Linked DNA regions of Homo sapiens: regions 1, 2, 3, 4, 6 and 7 are each linked to region 5. The links are contacts of gene promoters, found by promoter capture Hi-C in blood cells and fetal thymus (Javierre and others, 2016). All regions are on one chromosome and are shown on one strand. The core of a region is centred on a gene start or on the middle of the fragment in contact, and the rest is flanking DNA. Distances in the headings are between cores, read along the strand shown. Region 1 overlaps BAZ2B (bromodomain adjacent to zinc finger domain 2B). Region 2 overlaps BAZ2B (bromodomain adjacent to zinc finger domain 2B). Region 3 overlaps BAZ2B (bromodomain adjacent to zinc finger domain 2B). Region 4 overlaps BAZ2B (bromodomain adjacent to zinc finger domain 2B). Region 5 holds the start of CD302 (CD302 molecule). Region 6 overlaps BAZ2B (bromodomain adjacent to zinc finger domain 2B). Region 7 overlaps BAZ2B (bromodomain adjacent to zinc finger domain 2B).

Evidence for each region. Contacts are between HindIII fragments. The CHiCAGO score rates a contact against its expected background, and 5 or more counts as called.
Region 1: a fragment that was not itself captured here is called in contact with the fragment with the promoter of CD302 in region 5 in 1 of 17 cell types (neutrophils); the score reaches 8.6 in neutrophils.
Region 2: a fragment that was not itself captured here is called in contact with the fragment with the promoter of CD302 in region 5 in 1 of 17 cell types (neutrophils); the score reaches 5.9 in neutrophils.
Region 3: a fragment that was not itself captured here is called in contact with the fragment with the promoter of CD302 in region 5 in 1 of 17 cell types (neutrophils); the score reaches 5.2 in neutrophils.
Region 4: a contact is called between a fragment that was not itself captured here and the fragment with the promoter of CD302 in region 5, in 1 of 17 cell types (neutrophils). The highest score is 6.5, in neutrophils.
Region 6: a contact is called between a fragment that was not itself captured here and the fragment with the promoter of CD302 in region 5, in 1 of 17 cell types (monocytes). The highest score is 5.1, in monocytes.
Region 7: a contact is called between a fragment that was not itself captured here and the fragment with the promoter of CD302 in region 5, in 1 of 17 cell types (monocytes). The highest score is 5.2, in monocytes.

The regions. Positions count from the first base shown.
Region 1 is chr2:159,455,353-159,458,854 of GRCh38, reverse strand. The region is part of intron 3 of BAZ2B (bromodomain adjacent to zinc finger domain 2B); the gene reads left to right. Among named protein-coding and RNA genes, the nearest start is that of BAZ2B-AS1, 160 kb to the left of the region's middle. The HindIII fragment of the contact is 5,013 bases long and covers 1-3,502 here.
Region 2 is chr2:159,393,031-159,396,434 of GRCh38, reverse strand. BAZ2B (bromodomain adjacent to zinc finger domain 2B) reads left to right here. Exons shown (of 37, transcript NM_013450.4): 20 at 601-666. Among named protein-coding and RNA genes, the nearest start is that of WDSUB1, 110 kb to the right of the region's middle. The HindIII fragment of the contact is 8,269 bases long and covers 1-3,404 here.
Region 3 is chr2:159,437,936-159,441,069 of GRCh38, reverse strand. BAZ2B (bromodomain adjacent to zinc finger domain 2B) reads left to right here. Exons shown (of 37, transcript NM_013450.4): 7 at 1,858-2,061; 8 at 2,375-2,767. Among named protein-coding and RNA genes, the nearest start is that of WDSUB1, 150 kb to the right of the region's middle. RefSeq lists an enhancer at 2,132-3,134. The HindIII fragment of the contact is 3,347 bases long and covers 1-3,082 here.
Region 4 is chr2:159,412,430-159,415,992 of GRCh38, reverse strand. BAZ2B (bromodomain adjacent to zinc finger domain 2B) reads left to right here. Exons shown (of 37, transcript NM_013450.4): 14 at 3,448-3,563. Among named protein-coding and RNA genes, the nearest start is that of WDSUB1, 130 kb to the right of the region's middle. The HindIII fragment of the contact is 3,642 bases long and covers 1-3,237 here.
Region 5 is chr2:159,796,582-159,799,928 of GRCh38, reverse strand. It overlaps CD302 (CD302 molecule), which reads left to right and starts at 1,721. Exons shown (of 6, transcript NM_014880.5): 1 at 1,721-1,797. The coding sequence starts at 1,731. All of the region lies in intron 33 of LY75-CD302 (LY75-CD302 readthrough), which reads left to right. LOC124906083 (a long non-coding RNA gene) reads right to left here. Exons shown (of 2, transcript XR_007087273.1): 1 at 1,977-3,347; 2 at 1-1,110. The HindIII fragment of the contact is 1,931 bases long and covers 439-2,369 here.
Region 6 is chr2:159,366,419-159,369,475 of GRCh38, reverse strand. All of the region lies in intron 27 of BAZ2B (bromodomain adjacent to zinc finger domain 2B), which reads left to right. Among named protein-coding and RNA genes, the nearest start is that of WDSUB1, 81 kb to the right of the region's middle. The HindIII fragment of the contact is 2,630 bases long and covers 307-2,936 here.
Region 7 is chr2:159,326,182-159,329,430 of GRCh38, reverse strand. The region is part of intron 34 of BAZ2B (bromodomain adjacent to zinc finger domain 2B); the gene reads left to right. Among named protein-coding and RNA genes, the nearest start is that of WDSUB1, 41 kb to the right of the region's middle. The HindIII fragment of the contact is 4,193 bases long and covers 1-3,249 here.

The DNA of each region.
Region 1 (3,502 bases), core at 1-2,500, 340 kb after region 5:
ATAGTTTAAACAGTATAAGCATGTGAAATACTGAAGGAGAAAGCATAAGAGAAGGAAAGAGATAGCTGGACAAAATCTTTAGGAATCTTTTACATTTAGGGGGAAAAAAGCAAAAGAAAATCCAATAAAGGAGATAGTATTATTGAAAGATGTATAGTTAAGAAGAGGATCAAGAGGGTTCCACGACCTAGATCTTAAGGATGATAATGGGTTTTGAAAAGAAAGGACCAGGCCAGGCGCGGTGGCTCACACCTGTAATCCCAGCACTTTGGGAGGCTGAGGCGGGCAGATCATGAGGTTAGGAGATCAAGACCATCCTGGCTAACACGGTGAAACCCCGTCTCTACTAAAAATACAAAAAATTAGCCGGGCATGGTGGTGGGTGCCTGTAGTCCCAGCTACTTGGGAGGCTGAGGCAGGAGAATGGCGTGAACCCGGGAGGCGGAGGTTGCAGTGAGCCGAGATCGCACCACTGCCCTCCAGCCTGAGCAATAGAGCGAGACTCCGTCTCAAAAAAAAAAGAAAAAAGAAAGAATAGAAAAGAAAGGACCAGGCACAGTGGCTCACGCCTGTAATCCCAGCACTTTGGGAGACTGAGGCAGGCAGATCATGAGGTCAGTAGTTTGAGACCAGCCTGGCCAACGTGGTGAAACCCTGTCTCTACTGAAAATACAAAAAAATTAGCTGGACGTAGTGGCACACAGCTGAAATCCCAGCTACTCAGGAGGCTGAGGCAGGAGAATCATTCGAACCCGGGAGGCAGAGGTTGCAGTAAGCTGAGATTGTGCCACTGCACTCCAGCCTGGGTGGCTGGAGACTCCATGTCAAAAAAATAATAATATGAAAGAGGCAGTCAGGAATGCCAGACTTATATAAGAGGTTGAGAATGAAAACAATAAAGATTAGAGGGATCTAGGAATTATGAAAACTTTCCTTTTACAGACCAAGTGGAAGGGAGGCTTGGGGCTTGGCACAAATGTTGAAAGATTCTGAGAAGTGAGGAGGAAGTAGACATAGCAGGTATAGGACGTTTCCTTTAAGGTTAACACAGGAGAGGTATTGATGTATTGAGAGGGAAAGAGACAGACAGGGTAAAGGAGTGGCCCTGGGAGGGGCTGGAGGTGGTGCTGAGAAATAAGGGAATGGAAATGTGAAAATTGTGGTTCAAGGGTGAAACTTTAAGAGTTTAAGATCCTGGAGGTGGTAGGATTCTGTGTGATCAAATCCAACATGTGACCTAAATGGAATCAAGGAGGAATAAAGGGCCAGTGTTAATGTTAACAAATTAGGACCAGGGGTTGAGGAAATAAGGCAAAGGAATCTAGGAACCATAACTGCAAGTTTGCCTAAAGACTCAAGACAGCTTTTTGTTCTGATTGAAAGCCTTTGGAATGAGTCCCATGGATAGGCCTCTTCTGCTTTAAATGAGTAGTGAATTAATTCATTAAAAACATTTATTTTATGTCCGTTATGTACTAGACACTGTTTTAGGTGTTTGGGTTGTATTACTGAGTCCTGTATATGACAGTACCAATTTGTAATACTGAAATATTAACAAACTTGTTTTATACATTATGGTATAAAAATAGTCTTGCACTGTTTAAATTATGCTCAAAACATGAGTTCCTTGAGGTCAGAGATTGTCTTACTCATCCTTGTAGGCCAGTTACTTAAGCATAGCACCTGATGTTTAATAGGTATGTTCATGAAATGTTTGAATTACTGAAACTGTTAAATAACAGAATAATTCTGTAAGATTTTTACATGGAATTACTATCTGTGTTTTGTAAAAGATGGAAGAAAAACAGTATTAAAATTATATATATAGCATTACAGAACTTTTTAATGAAAAAGATTACTTTTTTAAAAATATCACTGAGTTCTAAATTCTTGCTATAAAGGCAAAATATAGTAAAATTGTGAAATGTATTCTTAAATTATTTCCCTTCTCTAGTATAACCTTTCCCGCATGAAACAGGAAGTCTTTCACGTGGGTATTTTTTTAGTGCATGGTATTACTACAATTATGATAAGTGATCTTAGTATACTTTACTAAATATAGACGTGAATCTTTTTCTCACCAGCAAGGAATGGACCTGTAAGACTCAGTCGTCACTAAGGATGCTTTCCATGCTTTAACTATTTTAACCAAGAATTTTAGAAGAAAGAATTAGGAAGTAGAGTTGAAGTAGCCTTGATCTGAACTCCCATCTCTGCATTCTTGCCAGGCATAGATGTCATTCTTGTGTACAGATCTATATTTTTTTCATTTGAATCTGTGATGTATACAGCTCATTTTGCTGAAATTTTCTACTCAGTTGCTTCCACATGTCATTCCTTTTAGAGTTAAAAAAGAACTTTTTGTTGTCAAAGTATGTATCATTGGTTCTTCATTGTTGCCACAAGAGTGATAACTTCATTTATTTACTGCTTATGTTTTCTGCTTGTGAGACTACAAAGTTTAGCTTGTTTGCTTCTTCCCAATAATGAAATTAATGCTGTAACTATGCATCTAAGAATGCTGCTTACTACCAATTATGTATTACTTATTATTTATTACTACCAATTATTTATTACTTACTACCAATTATTACCAATTAGTTATTACAACTAATTGTAATTACAGTTAGTTATTGCAGAAGTGTTTCTATCAGTTTCTAATCCTTGATAATTTCAATTATTCTGGATTTTTGTAATATTTAATATAGCTTTTGTAATTTTGAGGTTACTTCCCTCAAATTTCTTTGTATTAAATCACAACTACATACATGTAATTGATATAATTTAGGAATTGTTATTTGTAAAACATAAATTACAGATGACCCCAAATTCTCCAAAACTGCAATGTTCAGTTCAACTTGCTTACCACACAAATTGATGGAGAAAGAAAAGAACTGATCATAGTATGTTTATAAATAAAACATTTAACAACATTTGAGTCAGGAAGTTGAATTGACTGGTGAGAACCAGAGATTTTATATGTAATAACAAATGAAAGTAAAAACTGGTTTTTATAGTTACAAGCTCATTTTTTTGAGAAACTAGCTGGGTTTCTGAGAATTTGCCAAAAAAAAAAAAAAAAAAAAAAAAACCACAATATTTCTGGTAACCTATCACTGGTCTTAAAGATAATGACATTTGGGTAGCTTTTTTGGCAGTAGCATACTCTGTTTTATTTTGACTCATCTTCAGTGCTAATGCAGTCCACTCTGATAAAACAGAAGAACCAATTCAACAAAAACAATGATTAGCTGATTTAGAAGAGACACCCAAGTTTATGCCCTTTCCTTGTCCTCTTACCTCACAGTATCCTTGTGGGCCTTCCTTGTAAAGATACTTTGAGGATCTTCCCTGTGAGATCTAGTTACTGCTTTGTTGTAGTGGAGCACTATCCTGAATCAGAACTTTTTCCTTATATAGCCTGATACAAAACATACTTAATGCAATTTATTTAAATCTTATTTTTAAAAGTCATTCAGATCTTCTTGTTTCAGTAAAGAAT
Region 2 (3,404 bases), core at 175-2,674, 400 kb after region 5:
TATCCCATTTCATTGGTGGTGTATGTGAAACAAGACTAGTTTAACTAAATTGGTATAAAAGCCTTAAAAAAACTCTAATTTATTGGTGGCTTATTGGATTTGCAAAATGATTTTGTACTGAAAATAACCTACTCTAAAATCATGAAGTTAAAGTGACTATAAATCAATTTCTTCCTGATCTAAAATTTTAAGAACAACACAACCGTTAGTTTAATTGGCCATAGTATTTGTGGTTTTTCTAATAGCAGATGTAAGGTAACTGACCTGTTCCAGCCAACCATTATGCTTTTTGTTCTGCCAGCTTTTGAAGGAGCATCACAACTGACCATAAGTAAATCTTGTATGCTTCTGTTTACACTGTCTCCATGTTCATTGCTTTACCTTTTTGCTTTTGATTGTTGTATTTGCTTTCTAAACCTGAACTAAAACATGCACAGACTGGCCATTCTTGTCTTATATTTAGTATTTACTGTGACTTGTCTATAAATGCTAAACATGCTATACTGAGTTTTTGTTTTGTTTTTGTTTTTGTTTTTTCATTGGAAAATCAAACTGTTAATTGTGGCTGAGTTATTTTCCACATTTTATCTGGCCTAATAGGAACGAGAGCGAAGGCGACAACACATGATGCTTATGAAAGCTATGGAAGCTCGTAAAAAAGCAGAAGTAAGTGTATGTTTCTAGAAAAATATTACCTTATAAAGTAATGCTTTTTCCTAAAGCATTGGCTCTTCTAAATATAAATTTTTCAGAATATAGGTTTGTTGTGATTTACTGGTTTTCATATGCAAACCAAAAGTTTAGAGATAGCAACTGAGTGTTAGAACATAAAAGAATGTAGGAAGAGTTCCAATGTATGTGTTAGTTTTCCTGGCTAAGATTTTAATTGTCTTTTTTTAGTGTAGTAAATAACATTGGTTTAGATAAAAGTAGCTATTTATCACACCAGAGTTTCACAAAACTAGTATTACAGCATGCCTAGACAAATCCTGTATGTCCTAATTCAAACACAAATCATTCCGACCATGGATTTCTGCCCTAAGAATTATTCTTTAGCATTCTCTATGTAAAATTAGGCTAAGTACTTTTCTTAAAATAACTTTTAACAAATAATTCAGAATAAGAAAATTATTGCAGTACAATCAGAATGAGCTTATTTGGAGGTTAATAGAAATCACTTAAAGGTTGAAATAGATATATGTTACAAAGGAATAACATTCTGTATTGAAACAGTTGAATAGAGTCATTATAACTGGGGCTTTGGAGGTTGAAAGACACAGGTTCCCCTGCTGGTTCTGCCACCAATTTGCTTGACATTTTCAAGCCATTTTTTTAAAATTGAGATGATACCTACCTCCTAGGTATGGGATTTTTGAGTGAGATAAGCATTTAATAAGTGAGAATTAATGAAAATGACACTGTTTGATCTAGAAGCTGGGAGGCTGTATTTCAGTATTTTGGTTTCAGCTCTAGCTTAAATTAGCAATATAGGTTTTTGATGTGTAGAGAAAATAGGTGTATTGTTTTGAAACCTGTGCAAAGTAGCCAGATTATCTGAATTTGAATTCTGGTTTCATTACTTTCCAGCTATATGACCTTGGGCATGTTATTTAACTTCTCTGTGATTCATTTCATCTATAAAATGAAGATAATACTGAATTCTGTTTTGTAGGGCTGAAGAGATGAGTAAATGGATATGTGTCTCTGTGTATGTAAAGTTCTTGGAACAGTGCCTGGCACCACATAGTACTTAACCATTGATACTACGTATGTGTAGAATGGGCCTAGCAAGATGCATCCCAGGTTGCGAACTACTGACATAGAGTACCTCTTAGCATAGACTTAACATAGCATGTAACATATATTACAACAATCACTTTCTGTGACGTTTCCTAAAGGTTATGGAAGTTTTACTCCAACACTTTTCCTGCTGTCTTTTTTTCCCTAACCTTTTGATTACCCAGGCCTATTGACACCCTCTATACCTAACATAATAATTGAATCTATACATCTGTGCGTGGAATTGTAACCATAATCTCTGAAAAATGACAGTCAGGGAAAGAGAGAGGTAACGTATTCCAGGAATTGGCATGGCTGCTCTCTATTCGCTTATGGAAACAGTACAGTGAAGGGAAGAGTAAGGAAGGGGACTAATTAAAAGCCTGAACACTGAACCTAATTCTCTCAATCTGGAGAGATGGAAATGGAGGGAGCAATTAGTAGCTCAGGGAAAAGACCTAGAAAATCCCTCAGGAGACAAGTTCTTCCCTACCAATCATGGGTTTTGTTTTGTTTTTTTTTTTAATCAGAAGGAATAAAAAGAACCAGGGCTTGCCATTCTGGTTTTTCTTGGCAGGGAGGAAAGCTAACTAAAATAACCCAGAACGTTATCTTTAGGCATACTAGGCTTCATTAGAAGAGAAGATCCAGTAAAATAGTAAGAATGAGATCATCTGAGAGGGGGAATGCCCAGGTGAAAGAGGCACCCCAAAGGCCTCAGAGACATGAACCCTCCCGCTGGTTTTTCATATTTGCCCACTAGGGCCTGGGGAGAGTGGGGGAAGCTGCTGCAGAGAGGTGAAGGAGATCTGGGTTGAGTGGAGGGTGGTAGCCACAGGATAAATACAGCTGATGAAAATGAGATATTCTAAGAATCCATCAAAGCCCAAGAGCACCTCTCAAGAGGAAAAGGATATACTCTTGACTAAATAGAGTGAGTCCGCTACAGTTCTTCCAATAAAACTGAGAGATACCAGAAACCTGGTATAGCTCTCCCTCTCCTACCTACCTTTGTCCTAAGCAAAAAGAAACAGAAGTAGAATACAGAATACTCATGGGCAAATCTGAATTACTTTTAAGTCTAAAAACAGGTAGCAGATAAAGGGAGAAGAGCTGAAGGAAAATTAACCCACCTATATTGGAGCAATACAAGTTATTAATAGGGCTGGACATATTAAGCATAAATACTTTGAAAAGAAATGGCAGGGCAACTGTGTTAAAATATTAAACCAAAATAAAGCCAATAAGTGCATATGTACATAAAGTAATGACTTAAATCCTAATAGCTGAAAGAGCGAGCCTGGTTTCTCTGTTCTCATTATTGCTTTCCTCAGCACTCCCTATGCATTCTCTACAGAGCAGCCAAAGTGATCTTTTCAAAAAGTAAACCAGATCATATCCTGACACTATCCAGGGGCCTCTCATTGCAATTACGATAAAATTCAGACTCCTCACCATGGCATTTTCCCACTGACCTCTGCCTCTCACTCCAGTTTTACTTCATACAATTTGTCCCTTATGCACTATATTCTGATCATTTTTGTCTTGTTATTATTCCTGAATGAACGGTCTGTACTATTGCTGTTTTTCCACCAAATATTCACATGGTTCCTATTTGTTGTTCA
Region 3 (3,134 bases), core at 160-2,659, 360 kb after region 5:
AGTAGCTGTTTCTTTGACAAATAAATGGTAGTCTTAATATTAATATATTATTATTTTCCTTTAATCTCTCTACCTTGTGATCTTTCTCATTGTGTGGGTACCCATACAATTCCAATTCAGTTTCTCGTTCCTGTCTGCCCTACTTTGAGGGAAGAAAACTCAAGAAATGATGGGAACTATTAGTCTGCTTATTGAAGTGTGTATCTTTGAAAGAGGCCTTCTTGTAACTAGTTTGGAGCAGTTAAAGCAGAGTCATTGCAAGGCCAGATGTGGTGGCTCACACCTGTAATCCCGGCACTTTGGGAGGCCGAGGCGGGTGCATCATGAGGTTAGGAGTTCAAGACCAGCCTGGCCAAGATGGGGAAACCCCGTCTCTACTAAAAATACAAAAATTAGCGTGGTGGCAGGCGCCTGTAATCCCAGCTACTCAGGAAACTGAGGCAGAGAATTGCTTGAACCTGGGAGGCAGAGGTTGCAGTGAGCTGAGGTCGTGCCACTGTACTCCAGCCTGGGCGACAGAGCGAGACTGTCCCCGAAAAAAAAAAAAAAAAACAAGAGTCATTGCAAACGGAATATAATGGCGGGAGTGACTCTCCTCACTCATATGAATGTTACCTGAATCAATGTTCAGAAGACACAATAAAAAGACTACAGATTTGCAATCTGTAACCGTGGCTTCAATTTGGCTCTCTGTTGTGGAGATATATTACTGTATTTCATTCCCCAATCCCGAGTAGTCATAAAAGGATGTATTTCTGTTAAGATCATAACTTTTGTAATTTATTGTTATTTTTTCTATATTTTGTTCTTTATCAGCAAATGCCATTAAAATGTTCCTAGATTGTACTTAATCTTGTGGCTCCATCATTTCAATGTTTCTCCTTTTCAGTCTTTCTATTGGTGAAATTTTAACTTTCCCATTGTTAAATAATTATGAATATTTTCAATAATCTACATGACAGAGCTTGTACTTTTTATTGAGGAGTTCTTTTATAAGTTAATTGATTGGTTTGTTAATTTGTTATAATACATCTCATGATTTTTCCTCTTTTTGTCCACTACTATTATGTTTTCTTGAACACAAAACTTCACTTTTATGTGACCTAATAACCACTTTCTACCAGCTTTGGATTTTATTTTTCTTGCAGAGTCTTAAATGTTCCAAAAATAAATCTCTCTCGTCATATTTATCTACCTCATCTTCTACCTTTTTTTTAATATTTTCTGAAATGAAACATAAACAGTTAAATTCCTTGACCCTAACTAAAGCAGCCCCATAGGTCTTTTGCTACCCTACTTTATCTTCTCTACAGCACTTATTATTATATGGAATAATTTGCTTTTATATTAAGCATTTGTGTACCCTCCCCTATCACCAGCACTAGTAAGTTTCTTGAAGGCAAGGACTCAGTCTTGGACATACCCAGAAAGGTGTGTGTGGCATGTTATAGGTAAATGTTTGGCTACTGACTCACTGTCTGCAAAAAGAAAGAAGACTAAAGCTAAATGTGTAACTTTTGATGTATGTATCATAGTTGGAATTATTTTGTGAACTGATCTTTTTAATCTGTCATACATTTTGAAGAATAACAGTCATATGAGTACATCTACACATATGCTATATTGATATTTTCAATATTCTACATGACAGAGCTTGCACTTTTCATTGAGGAGTTCTGTCATGTAAGTTAAGTTGATCAGTTTGTTAAATAATTATCCTTACGATATGTGACTTTTTCCTACAATGACATTTTGAGATTGAAAATATCATTTGAAAATTAAAAAGAGTACACCTTTTATTGAAACTTGAATGTTTTCCAAAAATAAAGTCTTGCCAACTACCTTGTCGTTATCCAGAAACCAAGGAAGAAAGCAATGGAAAGTTCTAGCAACAGTGATAGTGATTCAGGCACATCATCAGACACCTCAAGTGAAGGCATTAGTAGCAGTGATTCAGATGATCTAGAAGAAGATGAAGAAGAAGAAGATCAAAGTATTGAAGAAAGTGAAGATGATGATTCTGATTCAGAGAGTGAAGCACAACATAAAAGTAACAACCAGGTATAATTTTTTTCATGGACAGTATCCAAACATTATTCATATTTAGGAATTAACTGGTTTATCTTGACTCTCAAAGTCTGTAGTTTTAAAGTTAATCATTACTTTGAGTTCATACTTTTGCCCAAGAAAGAAGATGAAGAAATGTTTTTAAAGGGACATACGGTATTTCTTTTACGAATTTTTAGATTTTTAGATATTATCATAAGGCATTAAGAACACTTTGAAAGTACCCGTTTTTATCTCCAGGTTTTACTGCTTGATAGTCTTTGTCTTAATAGATGTTAGGAACTTACCTTTTCATTTTTATATCTAGGTGCTATTACATGGTATTTCAGACCCAAAAGCAGATGGACAGAAAGCAACTGAAAAAGCCCAGGAAAAAAGAATACACCAGCCATTACCTCTTGCGTCTGAATCCCAGACTCACTCATTCCAATCCCAGCAGAAGCAGCCTCAGGTTTTGTCACAGCAGCTTCCATTTATTTTCCAAAGCTCTCAGGCAAAGGAGGAATCTGTGAACAAACACACCAGTGTAATACAGTCTACGGGATTGGTGTCCAATGTGAAACCTTTATCTTTGGTAAATCAAGCCAAAAAGGAAACTTACATGAAACTCATAGTTCCTTCTCCTGATGTTCTTAAAGCAGGGAATAAAAATACCTCTGAAGAATCTAGTTTATTGACCAGTGAATTGAGATCCAAACGGGTGAGTTACAAATTATTTATACAAGAATTTTACTATTAGAGAAAGATAGAGCTTCTATATTGTCTTACAATACACAAGTTTAAGTTAAATTCTACCTTCATTTTTATACTTTCTTAGTCTCCAGGAATAGAATATGTACAGCAGAAAACTAAATTTCTCTGATTTTATATTCATATATGTATCTGTTTAATGTATTTTTGGCAATGCAATCATGTCATTCCAGCTCCCCTGCAACCCATGCCTAAGGTAAGTCCCCACACCCAAGATCTAAGGATTTAGAAATAAGGGGATAAATATGTTTGAGTAAGACAAGCTTCACAATTACTTGGGTTTAAAATTAATGTCCTTTTTTTCCTAATACCAATTT
Region 4 (3,563 bases), core at 167-2,666, 380 kb after region 5:
GTCTGTTCTTTGCTGTCTATTCAACCTCACTCAGCCTGAATTTCCTCAATTGTAAAGACGATAAAACCCACCATATGAGATAGAAATGTTGTGAAGATTAAAGTGTATAGTCTATTCAAAGTATCTGGAACAAAGCACAATACTTAGAATGTGAGATGTAGCTATTATCCATAATCACGTACAATTTAGTACCCATTAACTGCGATATTCATAGACTTCTTGCCCCAGGTTAGGCAAATCATGTTATAACGTAAAACTCAAGAACTTTGGGTTATTTTTGGTTGCACAGTTTCTTCTAGTGACTCAACCAAAATTTCTACTTTGAGGATATTTTTAGAGAAAAACACGTTTTAAAAATTTCCTTAACCTTCATACTGAAGGAATTAACTCTTAAAAAGAAATAATAAGACAATTATTTTTAAAAGATGTCTCCTATATCTGAACATATTATTTTGGACTATAAGGTAATATAACAGTGTATTTGTTTTGATTGACACATGCAGGATACATGTATTTATGTGCTAAGCAGTATTTTTTTTTTTTTTTTTGAGACGGAGTCTTGTTCTGTCGCCCAGGCTGGAGTGCAGTGGCGCAATCTTGGCTCACTGCAACCTCCACCCCCTGGGTTCAAGCAATTCTTCTGCCTCAGCCTCCCAAGTAGCTGGGACTACAGGTGCACACCACCACGCCCGGCTAATTTTTGTATTTTTAGTAGAGACGGGGTTTCACTGTATTGGCCAGGCTGGTCTTGAACTCCTGACCTTTTGATCTGCCCGCCTTAGCCTCCCAAAGTGCTGGTGTTATAGGCATGAGCCACTGAGCCCGGCCGCAGATACACTAGCATTGTGTTGGCATGTGCCTCCACTAGGAGGCTTATGATGAGAAATCTCAAATATATACAGAAATAGATGGACTGATAATATAGACCTTGTACCCATCATAAGTTTTAGGAATTATCATTTTGACCAATACTGTTTTACATATACCCTCATCTACTTCTCCCTTCCAAAATTTGTTGAAGGAATGGTTCCATTTGTGTCTCTAAAAGATAAGGACTCATAACCACAGTACCACTATTATACTTTTAATATATAATTTCTTTTTAATTTTTTTCATTGTTGTGAGTACATAATAGGTATATATATATGGGGTACATGAGAATATTTTTTTTTTTTTGAGGTGGAGTCTCGCTCTGTCACCCAGGCTGGAGTACAGTGGTTCCATCTCGGCTCACTGCAACCTCCGCCTCCCGAGTTCAAGCCATTCTCCTGTCTCACCCTCCCAAGTAGCTAGCACTACAGGCACCCGCCACCGTGCCCAGCTAATTTTTGTGTTTTTAGTAGAGACGGGGTTTCACCATGTTGGCCAGGCTGTTCTCAAACTCCTGACCTCAGGAGATCCACCCGCCTCAGCCTCCCAACATGCTGAGATTACAGGCGTGGGCCACCGCGCCCGGCCACATGAGATATTTTGATACAGGCATACAGTGCAAAATAATAACATCAGAGTAAATGGGGTATTCATCACCTCAAGCATTTATCCTTTCTTTGTGTTACAAACAATCCAGTTATACTCTTTTAGGTTTTTTTAAATGTATGATAAATTATTGTTGATTGTAGTCACCATGTTGTGCTATCAAATACTAGATCTTATTTATTTTACCCACATATTTTTTATAACTATTAACCATCTTCACTCCCTTGCCCCTCTCCTCTCACTATCCTTCCCAGCCTCTGGTAACTATCATTCTGCTCTCTATCTCTGTTGAGTTCAATTGTTTTAATTTTTGGCTCCCACAAATAAGTGAGAACATGCAAAACTTACCTTTCTGGGCCAGGCTTATTTCACTTAACGTGATATTCTCTAGTTCCATCCATGATGTTGTTGCAAATGAAAGGATCTCATTTTTCTTTATGGCTGAATAAGTACTCCATTGTGTAGTGTATGTTTACCACATTTTCTTTATCCATCTGACATATGGGTTACCTCTAAATCTTGGCTATTGTGAACAGTGCTGCAGCAAACATGGGAGTGCAGACACCTCTTCAGTATATTCATTTCCTTTCTTTTAGATATATACAGAGCAGTGGAATTGCTGAATTATATGGTAGCTCTATTTTTAGTTTTTTGAGCGACCTCCGAACTGTTCTCCATAGTGGTTGTACTTATTTACATTGATACGTTCTTGATATCATCAACTCTCAGTCATTGCTCAGATTTTCAGTTGTCTCTTTATTGTTCAAATTTTCTTAACAGTTTATCTATTTATTTATTTATTTATTTAGAGATGAAGTCTCGCTCTTATCCTGCAGGCTGGAGTGCAATGGTGCGATCTCGGCTTACTGCAACCTCCACCTCCCTGGTTCAAACAATTCTCCTGCCTCATCCTCCCGAGTAGCTGGGATTACAGGTGCCTGTCACCACACCCAGCTGATTTTTGTATTTTTAGTAGAGACGGGGTTTCACCATGTTGGCCAGGCTGGTCTCGAACTCCTGACCTCAGGTGATCTGCCTGCCTCGGCCTCCCAAAGTGCTGGGATTACAGGTCGTGAGCCACTGTGCCCGGCCAGTCCGCGCCCAGCCAGTTTGTCTATTTAAATAAGTATCCAAGTAAGGTCCACAAATTGGGCTTGTTTGATACATATTTTAAGGTTCAGTTAAACTTCCTACAGTTTTCTTACTTCTTGCAACATTTGTTGAAGAAACTAGGTCATTTATAGAATTTCCCACAGAATGGATTTTGCCGTATAGTTTAACTTATACTTCCGTGTTTCTTTTAAAGTTATTGTAATTAAATCTAGAGGCTTGATCAAATCCAGGTTTGATTTTTGTGTGTGTGTGAGGGGCAGTACTATTTTATAGGTGATTGTATGAGCCTCCATCAGGAGGCTGATACCTGTCTAGTTGTGTCTCTTTTTGATGATAGGCAACCATTCAAGTTCAATTCTTCAATTAACTAATTTATTAGGTATTGCAGAATCCTGATATTCTAACTCTTTCTGTCTTAATTTGTTAGCTGTAATATTTATAAAGAGAAACTTTCATGTATTATTTGGGTAGCTTAGTGTTTTGGTTTAACTGATAACCCATAAGAGCAATCTATAGTGGCATCATTGTACAACTAACATTTTTAAATATCTGCTAACTCGATGGTCATTATAGTTCAGAAATGGTGATTAAGATTTATATCTCTACATTTATAGATACAGATACAAATCTATATATTTAATTAAAGCTTAAGTCATTAAAGTAAGAATATTAAAGCTATGCCAAAGGCCATGAATAATTATACATCTAAGTTTAATTTAAAAATGAAATTCCTAAAGCTTATACTAATGTTGTAAATTCCAAAATATATGTGATTTTTAGCTAGAATTTTCTTACATGTTGATCTCTTGTGTTTATTTTGTTTGTAATATATTATTTCTATAAAATGTTAATTAAAAGGGAATGCAGTGGTGTCTTTTGAAAGAAGAGGATGTCATTCCTCGTATCAGGGCAATGGAAGGTCGTAGAGGAAGACCACCAAATCCAGATAGACAACGAGCAAGAGAGGAATCCAG
Region 5 (3,347 bases), core at 472-2,971:
CTGTGTTCCATCTATTCATCCCCTCCTTCTTCCCACCCCAACCCCTGGCAACCATTTATCTTTTTACTGTCTCCATAGTTTTGCCTTGTCTAAAATGTCATATAGTTGGAATCATATAGTATGCAGTCTTTTCAGATTGGCTTCTTTCTCTTAGCAATACATATTTAAAGTTCTTCCATGTCTTTTTGTGGCTTGATAGCTCATTTAATTTTGGTACTGAGTAACATTTCATTGTTTGGATGTGCCATTGTTTATCCATTCACTTATTGAAGGACATCTTGTTTGCCTCTAGGTTCTGGCAATTATGAATAAAGCTGCTATCAACATTCATGTGCAGGTTTTTGTGTGTATGTAAGTTTTTAACTCATTTGGATAAATACCAAGGAGTTGTGATTGCTAGATGGTATGGTAAGAGTACGTTTAGTTTTGGAAGAAGCTTCCAAATTGTCTTCCAAAGTGGCTGTACCATTTTGCATTTGCACCAGCATTGAATGAGAGTTCTTTTTGCTCCACATCTTTGCCAGCATGTGGTCTTGTCAGTGTTTTTGGATTCTGGTATCTAATAGGTATGTAGTGGTATTTCATTTTTGTTTTCATATACAATTCAGCAATGACATATGATGTTGAGCATCTTTTCATCTATTTGCCATTATATAACTTCTTTGATGACGTGTGTATTCAGATCATCTGACCATTTTTTTTAACTGGGTCATTTGTTTTCACGTTGTTGAGTTTAGACTTGATTTTATAGAACTCTTTTGCCAATGACATGAGGCTTAAACAAGCACCCTTGCTTGACCCTGGCTAGTGTTGTCCAGAGGCCCTCATGGGTGAAGTATAATTGCACAGTTTATGCATACATTGTAGCAAACATAGCTTAAAGACTCTTCATCCAGGAGCTGGTAACAGAGAAAAGTTGTCTAAGAGACATAGTCCACTGAAAGGGGTCTTTGAAAAGGAGGATTCTGGCCAGTAGATCCAAAGAAGAAGGCTGGCAAACGCCACCTTAACCAACTGATCCAAGTTAACATCAGTGATGAGACATCGACATCTTGTCCTTCTCGAGCACGTACATCACTTCTGGGGAACTCTTTCCCAAAAAAGCGCAACCTGAATCCAATTAGAAGGAAATGTCAGACAAAATGAAACTGAGGGACATTCTACAAAACGACTGGCCAGTACTTTTTAAATGTGGTTTGATCGTGAAAGAAAAAGAATGACAGAGAACCGTCCTAGATTAAAGGGAGACTAAGGAGACACGACATGCAATGTATGATCCTGGATTGAATCTTGGAACAGAAAAGGACCCTTAGAGGGGCAATTAATGAAATGTGGTAAGTGCTGTAGATTAGCTAATCGCATTATCCCAGTGCGAGTGCCCTGTGTTTGATCACTGCACTGGCGTTATATACAATGTCAATATTTAGAGAAGCTGGCTGAAGGGTTACGGAAATCTCTTGTGCTGTTTTTGCAACATTTTCGAAAGTCCTAAATTATTTCAATTCAAATGAAAAGTTTAAAAAACAAAAATTAGAAGTTCCAGAAGGCCGCGCGCCAGCCGCTCCTGCGGGACGGGACACCCGGGTTCTCCTGGTGGGAGCCCCCAGTGCCGTTCACGTTCCGCCCGGGGGGGGGATTAAACTCGCACGCGAGAAGCACCGCCCCCGCTCCCGCCCCGCCCCGCTCCTCTCCGGCCGCGCAGCCGCTGCCGCCCACCCGCACCCGCCGTCATGCTCCGGGCCGCGCTGCCCGCGCTCCTGCTGCCGTTGCTGGGCCTCGCCGCTGCTGCCGTCGCGGGTAAGCCCTTACGTAGTCCCTCGCCGGGACCGTGCGCGACCGCCTTCGCCCCCTTCCCAACGCACGCTCTTCGTCCCCGCGCACCCGAGGGCGGCCCGCAGACGCAACACCCGGCCGGCCATCCCGCCCTTCCCTGCACGCCCGTCCCCCGTGGGTCCTGGCTCCGGGTCACCTCTCACCCGCCTGCCCTCGGGGAGGGGAGGTGGCCGAGAATAAGGGAGGGCTCTGTCTTCCTCGGAGTCCACATCCTCACCGCAGACCCCACTCCGCGGGGAGGGAACCCCCAAATTAGGCCAGTTGGCCGGAGAACTGAGGGACTTGGAGTCGCACGACGGGCGCCGTTTCAGGGCAATTTCGGGCTGAAATGAGAAGCGGGGACGTTGGTGGCGATTTCCCCTGCTGGTGCGCGGCCGGAGTGGGGTTGCTGGGATGGGGGTGGGGGCCGGAGGAAGTAGGCCCTCTTTTGCAAGCAGCGCTGTTTGTCTAGTTGGTTGGTGTTCAAGTTGTTTAAACAGGAAAACAGTTCAGCCAAATAACCCCTGGATGGAAGAGGAACGGGAATAGGCAAAGCTTGGATTTCACTGAAATCAAGGAGTTTTAAAGTTCTAGTCTGCTGTTGTGCAAGTGACATCTGAAAAATCACACACGTGATCATTCATTTACAAAACGACTCGTGAGGAAAATGCACAATTCTATTGACCGTGGTCTTTATTTTTAAAAAATTTCCATACAAGCATGTCAAAAATATGTGGATGGGGAGACTCTGGAGAACACAGACTTCCAAAAACACCACTGACTGAATAATTCCAGGAATTAAAGAGCAAAATAAACAAGAACTAAATGAGTACTTGTGTGGGCTTAAATAAAGTGCAAGAGATTTAAATAAAATGCAAGAGATTCCCCCCCCCCACCCCTTGCCCCAGATTTCACTGCGTTTTTATAATAACTGCCTGCTCGAAGTCTACTGACAGGAATATTTCAGTGGACCTCAGTGTTGGAGGCAGCAGCAGCTCAGAACTTGGATACAAACCCAAGGTTCCTTTCTTGAAAACTTCTGTGGACCTGCATTTATGACTGGTTGTGACATCTGCTGCCTATCAAAGGGGCAGAAACAAGATGTGCCCATGTTCACATTGTTCAGACTGGGAACATTAATTTTGTCTAAGACAAAGCTGGGCTGTCTCTGAACCCTCCTTCTGCACACCCTCATTTTGCGAGCCAGTAACATCTCAACTCTCATGTAAACCACCCTCTGCGAGGCTGTGCATTTGTACTTTAGGCTAGTCGAATTTTCTTGTCAGATTTTTCTTTCTTGTCAGACTTTTAAAGAAAATCAGTTTCTAGATTTTGGTATGTCTCTTCTTCAGTGAAGCTGTTTTGACCAGCAATAGAGGGCAAATTTCCCTTTGGAAATTTTTGTGCATTTCCTTTGATAAGTCCAGTGTGGATCAATAGGCTTTTCAAGAGCTTTAGAAAAGTGCATGATGAATAAATTAATGTTAATTAATCAGCTCCTCCCAGTCAGGAAGCTTTAAGGATTAATTTGGAAA
Region 6 (3,057 bases), core at 372-2,871, 430 kb after region 5:
TTCCATCACATTCTGTCATCATATCATGTCTCTACTCTGAAACCTTAAATGACCTCTATAACCTGTAACATGATGTAGTTAAATATGTACTTAGCCTGGCATTCAAGACTGTATACAATTCTGACCCCAAGCTGTCTTTATGCTGTTCTGTTAATGAGAATTCAACTAGTCCAGTCTACTCACTGAACACATGTGTATTCCTCCCCTTGCATCTTTGCCAAATCTTGTTTATTATAATAATAATCTGCTTTTCTTCTACCATCGAAATTTCACCCATCCTTCTTGATCCAGCTCAAATCCTAAGCTTTTCCACAAACTTCCCAGCTTATTTAAGTGGACCTTTTAATAAACGTGAAATTGAACTCCCAGAAAAGCAGATAATTAATTAGACCATTATTTTAGCACATTAATATATATACTATTTCCTTATTTAAATCTTATAATCTTCATCTGTGCTTTTAATTTTCCATAGTGTTGGAAGGATAGTACTTTATATATCACAGGCACACTTAAAATACTTTAAGATTTAAATAAGTAAATAAATAATTTAATGTCTTTATAAGGTTTTATAAGAATAGCTTATAGGAGACAGTTTTTTTTTTTTTTTTTTTTTTTTTAGGCCTTTCAGATTATCATTGATTGAATTTACATATTAGACCTCCATTTCCATCCAGGCTCTTCTACATAACCTCTCTGGACACTGATTTCTGTTTCTGCAAAAAAATATTAATAAGCTGTATATGAATTCTTCGATTGTTACAAGGATCATGTCAGATAATGGATCTAAAACAACTGCAAAGTGATATATAAATAGCAGTTGTACTTTATACTCTTATTTGTGGTCATTGCAGAGCAGGGGGAAGTAGGGATAATTTTTCACTTTATTTTCTTCTGAAGTTTTTTATTTCATTAATAGACATATTAATAGACATTAATGAAATAATAAGGGAATATACGTCTGCTGTATTCTATGTGCTAAGAACTTATAAATAATAGGTATAGATTCCTTCTCTTTATCTTACAGCTAATTAAAATGAGGAAAAAACTCAGATGATTTATTCATCAAGTGTTTATTTACACCTGTATTGTGCCTTGTACTAAGTGCTGTGGAGATGCAAAAGAAGACCAGGTGCACTGGTTCATGCCTGTAATCCTAGCACTTTGGGAGGCTGAGGCAGGAGGATTGCTTGAGCCCAAGAGTTCACAACGAGCCTGGGCAACGTAGCAAGACCTTGTCTCTACTAAAATCACATATATATGGCTGACTGTGGTGTGCACCTGTAATCTCAGTTACTCAGGAGGCTGGCATAGGGGGATCACTTGAGCAAAACAAGATGCAAAAGAATCAGTTAACCTGTCCCTATCCACAAAAAGCTCACAATCTAATTGGAAAGATACAGCACGTATGAAGACAAAGAGAACATACAAGTGTATAATATGAGCACGTAGTGTGTCTGACAGGCAAGGCTGATAAAGATCAGTAAGTGTCAAACTAGTAGAAACTACTGTAAATAAATGGGTGCTGAAAGTTAATTCAACATTAACAATATACATTATTGTCATCATCTTATTTATTACTTTTTTTTTTGAGACAGATTCTCACTCTATCTCCCAGGCTGGAGTGCAGTGGCGCGATCTTGGCTCACTGCAAGCTCCACCTCCCACTTTCACGCCATTCTCCTGCCTCAGCCTCCCAAGTAGCTGGGACTACAGGCGTCTGCCACCATGCCTGGCTAATTTTTTTGTATTTTTTTAGTAGAGATGGGGTTTCACTGTGTTAGCCAGGATGGTCTCGATCTCCTGACCTCATGATCTGCCTACCTCGGCCTCCCAAAGTGCTGGGATTACAGGTGTGAGCCACTGTGCCCAGCTGCTTATTTATTACTTTTTAAAAGTTCCTTAAAAGTATAATGTGTTCTTAATAAAGAAAGGTTAGATTTAACATTAAATGTACAAGTTTTTAAAAAATTCTTATAATAACATTAACATCAATTAATATTATGGGGAGAAGATATCAGACATTGGATTACCTTCACAGAAAAATATTAATTAAATTAAATTCGTGTTGTACAAGAGGCAAGGTAATATATACCACAAGCATTACACACAGTGCTAATAACAATAATGTTTATTGGTGATGATAACTTCAGATAAGTAACAGAGCACTCAGGGGATCTCTGAGCCCCTACAGTGGTTCCACAGGGGTGTGCCTTGTCCAGTTAGAGACTGGACAAGAAACAAGATCACTCAAAGAGAAGGCTCTGCCTTCATACCACTATATATTTCGAGGTTAGTCCAAGTCCTTCATTATTCTAAGAAACAACATATATCTCAAAGGACCTCTGGGCCTAGGAACAACACTAGGGAGTTTGCATTACAAAGGACCAGGATCTACAAACCAAGGACTTTGAGAACAGCAGCTAAAGACCCTACTGTTCCTCTGCACATCAGCTCGGTGGCTAAGCAGGTTTGCTGATGGGTCTTGGGAACAAGAGAAGGAAGAGAGCCCCCATGCCCATTTAGCTAAGACTGAGGGTTTATTCCTTCTCAGTCCACCCCCTGACCCTTGGTGTGGCTCACTAGATATATGCGTCCCCATCTGCAATAGAAAGCAATTAGATTTTAAATGGTGCCTTCAGTGTTTGTTGACAGTGCTGAAAGAGTCATATAGCCAGAGAAATTCTAAAACAAACAATATACCACAGCATTAGGAGATACAGAGCTCCCATGAGCAATCTGGCTGCATATCCAACAAAAAGTCCAAAGCTATGCAATTCTCTAATATTACTCATGTCAAGGAAGCAATACTAATTTCAGTGATATGATCCCAGGCTTTCTCAATGGCAGCGTTTCCCATGATAGCAATTGCTGGTCATATCCTCAGCTTCGTAGGTGACTATTCAAGGCAAGAGCCCTTGTACAAAGTAATGAAAGCTTGTATCCTTGACACCTGCAGATAGGCTCTAATGCTAGCCCTGGAGACCACAGCTGGAAAAGTGACCAGTGTCTTAGATTTTGAGTCACTATTAAAGGTCTCATAGTACTTCCAAAATGTGC
Region 7 (3,249 bases), core at 513-3,012, 470 kb after region 5:
AATCTGCAAGGGATTAGCTCCAGGATCCACCATGGATACCAGAGTCACAGATGCTCAGGTTCCTTATATAAAATGGAATATTATTTGCATATAACCTACACACATCCTCCTGTATACTTTAAGTCATCTCTAGATTATTTATAATACCCAATAAAACTATGCAATAAATACCCAATAAATGCTATGCAAATAGTTGTTAGACTATATTGTTTTTTATTTATTATTTTTTAATTGTTGTTTTGTTATGAGGGGGTTGGATTTTTTGCTTTATATTTTCTTTTTTTTTTTTTTTTTCCTATTAAGACAGAGTCTCACTCTGTTGCCCAGGCTGGAGTGCAGTGGCACGATCTTGGCTCACTGCTGCAACCTCCACCTCCCGTGTTCAAGCGATTCTCCTGCCTCAGCCTCCTGAATAGCTGAGATTACAGGTGTGCTCCACAATGCCTGGTTAACTTTTATATTTTTAGTAGAGATGGGGTTTTGCCATGTTGGCCAAGCTGGTCTCGAACTCCTAACCTCAAGTTATCTGCCTGCCTCGGCCTCCCAAAGTGCTGGGATTACAGGCATGAGCCACTGTGCCCGGCCTTTGTTTTATATTTTCCATCTGCAGCTGGTTGAATCCACAGATGTAGAACCTGCAGATATGGAGGGCCACTTATATGAATATACACTCTTAGATACACACACACATACACACACAAACTCACATATTAGACATTTCAAACTTCAGTGCCTACAAAAGCCAAGTAAATGACATGAAAGAGTTCATTGGACCCCTCATGGGCACTGTGGCAAACAGGGGAGTCATGGCCCTATTTAAATTTAATAGTCAAAGCTCAACTCCACCCAATTGTTGCCATGTAGGAATGTGGGCCCCATGTTCCAGAACCCACTAATATTTCAAGGGAAGTCAAGACTATGGATTTTTATGTCCTCCCAAATATTAAATATTGGAAACAAATTCAGAATTTTTACAAGCATTATATGAACCAAATACATTCTGTGGCCTGTTTGGAGCCGGTGAGCCACCAGTTTGTGACTTCTATCAATATATAAACTAGAAAGATATGTACCATTGTTCATGAAATCTGATAAGTTTTGCTTAAGACCCACTAAGTTCCTCTTTGAATTTGTACTCTAGCCAAGAAAAGGTGATGGGGGTTGGGGGAATGCCCTGCCCAAGAGCAAAGTAATCAGGTAACAGAGTAACTTGATAAAAGTTTGCTTTTAAAGTATGTGTAGGTGCACTATCTAATGAGATCATCAGCTGACACACATCATTTTTTGTCTTTAAAAAATCACAAGTTTTTTGATTCTGTGATTTCAATTTCATACTTTCTTTTTTTTTTTTTTTTTTTTTCGTTTTGAGGCTGAGTCTCATTCCATCACCCAAGCTGGAGTGCAGTGGTGTGATCTCAGCTCACTGCAACCTCCACCTCCTAGGTTCAAGTGATTCTTGTGCCTCAACCTCCTAAGTAGCTGAGATTACAGGTGTGCACCACCACACCCAGCCAATTTTTGTATTTTTGGTAGAGACGGGGTTTCACCATGTTGGCCAAGCTGGTCTCAAACTCCTGACCTCAGGCGATCCGCCCCCATTGGGCCTCCCAAAGCGCTGGGATTACAGGCGTGAGTTACCGCGCCTGGCCCAATTTCATATTTTCTTATTGTGAATATTAATTTGTTAGAAAATTATCCCAAGTAATATTTTAGTTCAAATAGAAACTAAATGTTTTGGCCCACTATTCATAATTCCAGCTCTGTTTTAAGTAACACAGTTATTTAATCTAACTTGTCATTAAATGGACTTTTTCTTCATTATATTAAGTTCTCCTTTTTAATGATTTTAGAGATTCAGAGTAAAAGCTCAGTGTAATATAAAAACCCAAAATAATCAGATTTTAATGAATATAAATAACTAAATGGAGAAGAGACTGAATAAAACATATTAATTATTTCAGTTAGTGACAGGGGTTGTGATTCTTTGATATCATATGGTGAAAGTGTTGGATTTATGGTTTGCCTTATTTAGTCAATTAAAATATCTCCTTAACTATACTTTAACCTGCCAATAAAGAAACAAATAATTTTAACTGCTTAAGAGCATTTTTAAGTAAGGTACTGGCAGGGGTCATGAAATCCTCAAAGACAATGCTATGAAATACTCCAAAGGACTGTTTTTCAGCCAATTTTAAGAATACAACCAACTTTATTAGCCAGGCATGGTGGCTCACACTCGTAGCCCCAGCTACTCGGGTGGCTGATATGGGAGGATGTCTTGAGCCCAGGAGGTTGAGGCTGCAGTAAGCCATGATTGTACCACTGCACTCCCAGCCTGGGCAACAGAGCGAGACTGCCTCAAAAAAAAAAAAAAAGATTGCAGCCAACTTTAAATTATTGCTACACTGATTATGTGACTTTGCAGTCTAGGATTTCTTAACAATCTGGTTAAGGGAATAGTAGTTTTCTAAAAGTGTTTGGTGTGTACCACATATTTGGAAAATAAAAATAAAAGCCATACGTTGCCAGAAGTTTACATATCTTTCTTTCATGATCTATTATATTTATTATAACATTTAACTCTCAAAAGGCAGATTTTTTTTCTCTATGAATACAGGGTGGGGCACCCTTCTTGTTGCATCAGTGTGCTGCCTGCAATTTGTAGTTATATTGCATAAGACCATGTTGAGAGTTCTTTTTTGCATGTAATTCTAGAGCTAGAATGACTTTAGCAAGTATGTGGCTTGTCATCCTTATTTTTTAAGTGAGAAAACAGGGCCTCACAAATATTTTTGCTTAAAGTTAGTAGCAGAGCCATAGCTGGAATTCATATCCTTCGATTCCAAGTATAATGTCCTTTATGTCATTTCTTTCTATGTTGTTTTTCTCAAAAACAGACATCTTTTTGCCCCATCTTTCACCACTGCTTTGTTCACACCTGGGAACCACAAGTTTGTGGAACTCTCTTCTTATTGCAAATACCTGTTATCTTTTATCCAGGAAAAAAAATCAAATCAATTTCTAGTAGATTTGATCACTTGGACTTCTCTATTTGACACTTCCTTAGCTCTTTTTCATTTTTTGGCCTGGCTTTTTATTACCTCTTCAACTTTCTTATTAACAATCTCTATATTTTCATTTATATTCATCTTTGTTCCTAATTCTGTTGTGCTCCAAAAGAGAATTCTTTTGTATCTTTAAACTCATTCAAGTAGTGACCTAGACTGAAAGAATACTACAGACACCTTC